Linked DNA regions of Homo sapiens: region 1 is linked to region 2. The links are contacts of gene promoters, found by promoter capture Hi-C in blood cells and fetal thymus (Javierre and others, 2016). All regions are on one chromosome and are shown on one strand. The core of a region is centred on a gene start or on the middle of the fragment in contact, and the rest is flanking DNA. Distances in the headings are between cores, read along the strand shown. Region 1 overlaps SMIM13 (small integral membrane protein 13). Region 2 holds the start of CAGE1 (cancer antigen 1).

Evidence for each region. Contacts are between HindIII fragments. The CHiCAGO score rates a contact against its expected background, and 5 or more counts as called.
Region 1: a contact is called between a fragment that was not itself captured here and the fragment with the promoter of CAGE1 in region 2, in 1 of 17 cell types (total CD8 T cells). The highest score is 5.7, in total CD8 T cells.

Annotation. Positions count from the first base shown.
Region 1 is chr6:11,096,340-11,100,310 of GRCh38, reverse strand. All of the region lies in intron 1 of SMIM13 (small integral membrane protein 13), which reads right to left. Among named protein-coding and RNA genes, the nearest start is that of SMIM13, 4.5 kb to the right of the region's middle. RefSeq lists a silencer at 3,851-3,930. The HindIII fragment of the contact is 4,078 bases long and covers 533-3,971 here.
Region 2 is chr6:7,388,299-7,392,437 of GRCh38, reverse strand. CAGE1 (cancer antigen 1) reads left to right here and starts at 2,696. Exons shown (of 14, transcript NM_001170692.2): 1 at 2,696-3,236. RIOK1 (RIO kinase 1) reads right to left here and starts at 2,630. Exons shown (of 17, transcript NM_031480.3): 1 at 2,365-2,630. The coding sequence starts at 2,435. RefSeq lists enhancers at 1,958-2,744, 2,348-2,767, 2,898-2,947, 2,958-3,017. The HindIII fragment of the contact is 2,322 bases long and covers 944-3,265 here.

The sequences.
Region 1 (3,971 bases), core at 1,322-3,821, 3.7 Mb before region 2:
AGGCAGGTGGATCACGAGGTCAGCAGATCGAGACCATCCTGGCTAACACGGTGAAACCTCATCTCCACTAAAAGTACAAAAAATTAGCTGGGCATGGTGGCAGGCACCTGTAGTCCCAGCTACTCGGGAGGCTGAGGCAGGAGAATCGCTTGAATCCAGGAGGTGGAGGCTGCAGTGAGCCGAGATCACGCCACTGGACTCCAGCCTGGGCAACAGAGTGAGACTCCCTCTCAAAAAAAACAAAAACAAAAACAAAAACAAAAAAACAATGTACCAAAGTAATACTAGGTAAGCTAAAAAGGCAATTATGTATTAACTTCAAAAAATTGAAGAACCATGTAAAAATGAAAGTGTGGTCATATTACACTATTTAACCAGCAGAGAATAATGTTTACAGAGTCAAAATATAAATCCACACTATTAAGTCAGCTAAATGTATTATCAATGGCAAGCAGAGAAAGAAATGGATGGAGCATCTACCACGGTTAATAATGTCTAAAAATATATAGTGGCTATTTAGGTCTGTAAAGCTTATGATGCTTCTCTACCTCTACCCTCACCACTAGGAGAACTGGAGTAACAGAATTGAAATAAACTCTTATCTGTTGTATTGAGATCTCCATTGGGCATATCAGGTGTTTCATTTGTAGGAGCTTGGGTATTCTGCAGCATTCATCTATTCATTTGTTGAACAAATGTTTATTGAGTGTCTACTATGTGCCAGACACTTCTGTAGGTGTCAGGGATATAGTAGTGAAGAAAACAAAATGCCTGCCCTCATTGGGCCTTACCCTCTAGTGTGGGAGACAGATGATGGACAAGTAAAACATGTAGTATGGGCCAGGCACGGTGGGTCACACCTGTAATCCCAGCACTTTGGGAGGCTGAGGCGGGTGGATCACGAGGTCAGGAGATTGAGACCATCCTGGCCAACATGGTGAAACCCCATCGCTACTAAAAATACAAAAACCAGCCGGGTGTGGTGGCGGGCGCCTATAATCTCAGCTACTCGGGAGGCTGAAGCAGAAGAATCCCTTGAACCCAGGAGGTGGAGGTTGCAGTGAGCCGAGATCGCGCCAATGTACTCCAGCCTGGCGACAGAGCTAGACTCCGTCTCAAAAAAAAAAAGTCTGATGCATTGAGCCTGGGTCTCAGGAGAGACATAAGAGTTAGAGAAACAAATTTTTGAGTCATTAGCTAGAGCAGACATTTAAATCTCTAGGACTGGATAGGAGACCTTGGGGAGTAAAAGAAAAGGGAAATGTATTTGCAGTATATTATAGAAACATAATAGAAAAAAATAGAATCTTCTCATACAGTAAGGGCAAGTAGGCAAGTACTAGTCCATAAACATTTTATTTCAGAGATCGATGATAAGTAAATAGATGTATTAATGGACTAACACATGTAATCTGTACACTTATGAACATATTAGGAATAATCTATTTTCTATTGTAGGTTGTGGTCAAAAAAAGAAAATTCTAGGGAATGAGAAGAAGCTAAGAAAAAATAATAGCCACTGTGGTAGGAAGAACATCATGGAAATACAGTATATAAAAGCCAAAGAAATGTTGAATGGACCCGGCATGGTGGCTCATGCCTGTAGTCCCAGCACCCTGGGAGCCCGGGGCAAGTGGATCACCTGAGGTCAGGAGTTCAAGACAAGCCTGGCCAACATGGTGAAACCCCGTCACTACTAAAAATACAAAAAATTAGCTGGGCATGGTGGCTGACACCTGTAATCTCAGCTACTCAGGAGGCTGAGGCAGGAGAATCACTTAGACCCAGGAGTAGAAGTTGCAGTGAACCAAGATTGCACCACTGTACTCCAGCCTGGGCAACAAGAGCAAAACTCCATCTCAAAAAAAGTAAATAAAAGAAACGTTAAATGTTTCTAGCAGACATCACTTAACTGTAAGGAATGAATATGACAATTTAAGCTCAGTTAGGACTAAGAAGCGACCACCACAGGCTGGGTAATATGGAGGCCATCTGTTACTGACTTTGACAACAGCAGCATCACTGAATAGTGGGGGTAGAAAACACCTTGGAATGAATGAGAGGTGAGAAAGCAGAGACAACCAATGTAGACAGAAGGGAAACCTGCCTAGGAATCTGAACTTTGGACATCAGAATTCACTAGGTGAAGGAGTCTGTCAGAGCTCTAGAGAAAACTACATAAATTCCTAGGGACAGGAACTGTGTTCCCAGTTCCTGGTAGACACTCAATATTCAGTTTGTTGAACTGAATGAAATAAGAAAACAGGAGACCCAGCCCAAAGAGCAGAGCCTCTTGATCTGAACTCCATGTTTGTATTCAAGGAAGAGGAGTCCATGAAATCTCAGAAATTGGGTGGGGGGGCGGCGAGCAGGGAGCAGATAAGTTATGTGGGTGAATTTTTCTTTTTTAAAAAAAAAGAAAGGTTCACAGCATTTACCAGACTCTCAAAAGGGCTTGTGACCGCTAGAAGGGTAAAAACAACTGTTTTATGGGCATACAGCTACTCCCTAGCTTTCAGCCAGTGCTAAAGACATGGTGCTTGTTATAGAGTGAATCGTGTGCCATCCAAATTCATATGTTGAAATCCTAACCCCCAGTGTGACTGTACGGTATTTGGAGATAAGGTTTTTTTTTTTTTTTTGAAACGGAGTTTCACTCTTGTCACCCAGGCTGGAGTGCTATGGTGCAATGTCGGCTCACTGCAACCTCCACCTACTGGGTTCAAGCAGTTCTCCTGCCTCAACCTCCTGAGCAGCTGGGATTACAAGCATGTGCCATCATGCCCGGCAAATTTTTGGTATTCTTTTTTTTTTTTTAGCACAGACGGGGATTCGCCATGTTGGCCAGGCTGGTCTCGAACTCCTGATCTCAGGTGATCTGCCTGCCTCTGCCTTCCAAAGGGCTGGGATTACAGGCATGGGCCGCCATGCCCGGCCTGCAGATAAAGATTTTTAAAGAGGTAATTAAGGTTAAATAAAGTCATAGGGTGAGGAGCCATAATCCAGCGACTGATGTCCTTATAAAGAGATTAGAACACACAAAGGAGAGACTATGTGAAGACATAAGGAGAAGACCACCATCTACAAGCCAAGGAGAGAAGCCTCAGGAGAAAATCAACCCTGCTGATCTCTGACTTTTAGCTTCCAGAGCTGTAAAAAAATAAATGCGTTTGGCTGGGCATGGGTGGCTCATGCCTGTAATCCCAGCACTTTGGGAGGTCGAGGTGGGCAGATCACCTGAGGTCGGGAGCTCGAGATCAGCCTGACCAACATGGAGAAACCGCATCTCTACTAAAAATACAAAATTAGCCAGGCACTGGGGACGGGCACTGTGGCTCACGCCTGTAATCCCAGCACTTTGGGAAGCCGAGGCGGGTGGATCACCTGAGGTTGGGAGTTCGAGACCAACCTGGCCAACATGGAGAAACCCCATCTCTATTAAAAACAGAAAATCAGCTAGGCGCATGCCTGTGATCCCAGCTACTCAGGAGGCTGAGGCAGAAGAATTGCTTGAACCCGGGTGGCAGAGGTTGCGGTGAGCCGAGATCACGCCATTGCACTCCAGCCTGGGCAACGAGAGTGAAACTCCAACTCAAAAAAAGAAAAAAGAAAAAAAAAAGCAAAACAAAGAAAAGAAATGAGTTGTTTAAGCCACCCACCAGTCTCTGGTATTTTGTCATGGCAGCCCTGGCAAACTAATATCGCACTCCAATTTCTCTCTTAAGTCTGGTCTGATCCTTGCCTCCTCTCCCCAAGTTCCCGCCCCATCCTAGTCAAAAGATGAGGCTACTCCATCATCAGTTCTCCCAACAACAACAAAAAAAGTATTGATCACTTCATCATAGAGCTTTTAGTTCTTGACTATTCCAAAAACTAAGGTGTCCTAGCACAGGGCTCTCCAGCCCTAGCACACAGATCCCTCCTCCCTGCAGGAGGCAAGTATTACCATCTGAGCTCCGCCTCCTGTCTGA
Region 2 (4,139 bases), core at 1,447-3,946:
ACATCAAGATTTGTGTTCCACAAAGAAATCCAAATCATCCCTGTTCATGATGGGAAGAAATGGTGAATACAGGGACCAGGCACTACAAATGAGAGAAGTAGGCTGCACAATAGAAGTGGGGACTGGCAAACTGGGAGAAGAGGTCCAAGGTAAAGGGAGCACAACCAGTAAGGGCTTTTTTTTTTTTTTTTTTTGCCATATTAGAATTCAGGCCTAGTGTTACCAGATCTTAATTTTTCAAGTGAAGCTGTAAGTCTGGATTTCTGTGTAAAATCTATCCCTTCACTGGCATAGTCAATTTTTACAAATAATTGTGCATACCAAACAAAACATGTCTGCAGGCCAAATTCAACAGAGGACTCAGTTTTTACCTCTCATGTACAGAAAAGGACAGAAACCATAAAAAAGCAGCTGATAATATGAGATACCAGCTGAAAAACAGACGAGTTTAAGTAAATTCAGATTATCAATCCCAATTTATTAATTAGCCATGGCTCTGAGGGTTCCCCGTGGACATGTGGAGGAAGAAAACAGACAATCATCAAACACTTGCTACTTACCAGGACTTCATACATATGCTCCACAGATTGATATATAATTGCCTAGAGTGGCATGTTAAAGTTGTAACTTTGCCAGATAATTCTTCGTTGTGGGGGACTGTCTTCTGCACTGTAGGATTTTTAGCAGCATATCTCTGGCCTCTACTTACCAGATGCCACTAATGTACCACCACCCCCAGCTGTGACATACAAAAACGTCTCCAGAAATTGCCAAAAGTCCCCTGGGTAGAAGTCGGGATGGCAACATCTTCCCCAATGGAAAATCACTGGTGTATCCTTACAATACCCTGGGGTGGATGGTAAATTAGTGCCCTCTCATTACCATTAACTACCCACTAGCTATGCTGGCTGTGTTTCTTCTGCTGCTTTTCTTCTCTAAAGCTTTTTGTACACTTCTCCGTAACCATAAAACTGGAATGCCCTTCCTCTTTCTCTGGCTAACCCCTACTCATCCATCAAGTATCAGCTCACTATCACTTGCTCAAGGAAGTCTTCCCTATTTTTCCCCCACTTCTCCTTTGTACTACTTACCCAATTCGAATACAAATAGTCTAATTATTTAATAATATCGGTTTCCCCTGCTAGGGTGCAAGCTCTGTGTCATTCAGGATGGTATTTACCAATGCCTCCCTACCACCTAAGACTAGATCTGACTCACAGAAAGCATTCAACATACATATATTTATTGAAAACATCCCCAATAATTAACAAAATCCGCATGTGATGAATCCTTACTGTAAACATAAAGTACAAGCTGTTTTCTTGGAATTCCAAAATAACTCCAATATGTTTCATTTTGCTTTTAGGCAGGAGTTATCCTTCATCCCTCTTTCCCCAGACTCCACGTCCAGTCTACCACCAAACGCTGCCACTTCTACCTCCAAGACATATCTTTAGGATCTGGGCTCTAGTCCCCACCATCTTTGAATCTGATTACCTTATTATTTTTGAACTGGTCTCTCTGTTCCACTCCCACCCTCCATGAACATCATCTACCTAGAAAGAATGATTCCTTTAAATCACCAAGCAAATAATGTCATTCTTCTGCTAAAATCCCTCCTATGGCTTTCCATAAGACCCACATTAATATCTGAACTTTTCACCATCACTTGTAAAGGTCTCCATGATCTGGCCCCCCTTCTTACTTCTCTATCACCCTACCAATCTTCTCAACTACCTCCACTGTGCTCTAGGCACTCTGGCCTCGGGGCCTTTGCTCTTGCTGTCCCTTCTGTGTGAAATGCTGTTCCCTCTGCTCTTGCCAGGATTAGCTCCTTGTCATTCAAATCTGGACTTAACCTTTCCCTACCCATTCAGTCACCACTTGGTATATCAAACGATTTGCATAGTCTACATCATTATTTGGTTTTTAAATGGTGTGCCCTCTCTTTCACGTAGAAGGTAAAGTTCCATGACAGCAGGAAGTTGGTTCTTCTTGTTACCTCCGGCGCCCAGGACAGAACGTGGTACATATTAAGTGCTTAGTAAGTATTTGTTGAACGCTAAATGTGGTTAAAACGCAAAAACCCATGTTTCCTAATCGCTATCCCCAACTCTGCCTCCCAGTGACGCTAACCGACCTGAGAACCGCAGACTCCCTTGACAAGTAGCTTTCACTTAACTCTGCCGCGTGAACTGGGAGAAAAACCCAGCTGGGATGCAGAAACAGGCAAAGGGTTGTCAAGAGAGACGCTGAGTGATGAACCACTAGTCTCCCTCTAAACCGCAAACAAGAGTCCACACCCCAAGGGGGCGGTCAAGGAGAGAGCCGTACCCAGAGCCAGGGCACTGTACGGCCGCCTACCTGTCAGAGGAGTCCGCGTCGTCGAATTGCCCGGGGACCACCCGGCTCATGAGAAGCCGCCGGTAGTCCATGACTGGAGAGCGCCGCCGGAGGCCGCCGCTCTGCGATGGAAAGGAACGGCTCAGACGGATGTACCCACGGCCGATCCAAAGGCCTTGGCGTGGATATCCGCCTTGCAAACCATTCAGAAGCCAACAGTGGCCACCACGTGCGACGGGAAAACGGGACCGACAGATCCACCACCCTGCCACCCCAACCGGAAGCCCCTCACCGCCTCGCCCGGAAGTCTGACTTGAGCGGAAGTCCCGCCCCTGCGCCGAGCTGGGAGTCCGGAGCTCTCTGGATGGCGCGCTGTATAGGGCTGTGGATGTTCTGTGCTCTCAGGAAGGCGTGTTGAGTAGCCGGCACGGCGAGGCCCGTGCTGGCCGTTTCTTCCCGGAGTTTTCGTTTCTGTACCCCACTTTGTGTTTACTGCGGCAGGAGGCGCCAGCTAGCCCACAGGCTGTTCGGCCTAGGGGGTCGTACCTTCCTAACTTCACCACTCTCTGGGAAGACACCGCACCCACAGTAGGGTCGCTCGGGCCTCGCGGGCTGCACCTGTCTCTGCGGAGTTCCCCCGGCGCGGGCGGACGTCACACAGGGGCGTTCCAGCACTCCGGGAGCCCGATTGCGAGTTTGTGAGAGTCCTTGGTGGAGGAGGTTGGAAAGCGTTCTCCCTCCCACAAAACCCGGTGCAGAGGGAGGGAGAGCCAGGTCCGTAGCGTGGGTCCAAGAAACTATGGATCCTGGAAGTGAGCACACTTTTGTGTCTTAAAAAGTTTGGTGTCTCGTTTTGAGGTGAAAAATGAATGAGATAAGTGCTTTTTAAAAAGGTAAAGTTTGTCTTACAACTGAAAAAGCTTTTAAACAAAACTATAGTTTTTGCGAGTAACTCCCGTGACACCTCTTTTAACTCCTATCTTAAAACAGCTTTAGAATGTCTCTGGAACATCTATTCAAACATTTGATAAATATGTTAAAAATCCAACATAAACCTGTAAGGACAAATGAAAGATGGAAAAAATAGTCTAACTTTAAATTAAAAAGGTAAACTGGCAGATTGTGCAGTGCCACATGAGGGATGAACAAAGTTGTAGAAATGTAATTGGAAGTGCTGGGTTCACAAACAAGAAAACTAAGAAACAAGGCCTTTGCGCTTTTTTGCATTGGGAAAACAAAGCAAGAATTTTTCAGATCTCACCACAATCCAGGCAGCATTATTTGAAAGACAAGGGAGAAGTGAGCATAAAGTTGGGCCTTTCACTGATCCTGACTGGTCTGCTTGGCTTACTTTTTTATATTTTACCAAGTGATGACATAGGTTTGAAAACAACTAATTTTCAATAAACTATTCATTCAGAAATTCAATAAAAGAATCCAGGCAGATGAGTAATGACTATAAATTGAAAGAGCTTGATAGAAATAAGTCATTGGAATGCAGGTTTTATTCAATCAATATTTGCTGTGTAGACAGCACTGGTCCATTTGCAGTAGGGGATATTGGAAAGCCCTAAGTATGCTCCTCTCAAGACATTTATGATCTGTAAACACAAACACTAACACCCTTGAAACAGTGGTGAAGCTCTAAAACAGTAAACGAAATCACCAAGTGCTGAATTGTAAGATAGAGATTTAGAGACTGAAGACATTGTAGGAATTTTGAAAATAGATGAATGGGTAGATGGGAAGGTTTTAGGAGAGAAGCACGTGCCAGGGCAGATGACTGAAGCTTAATT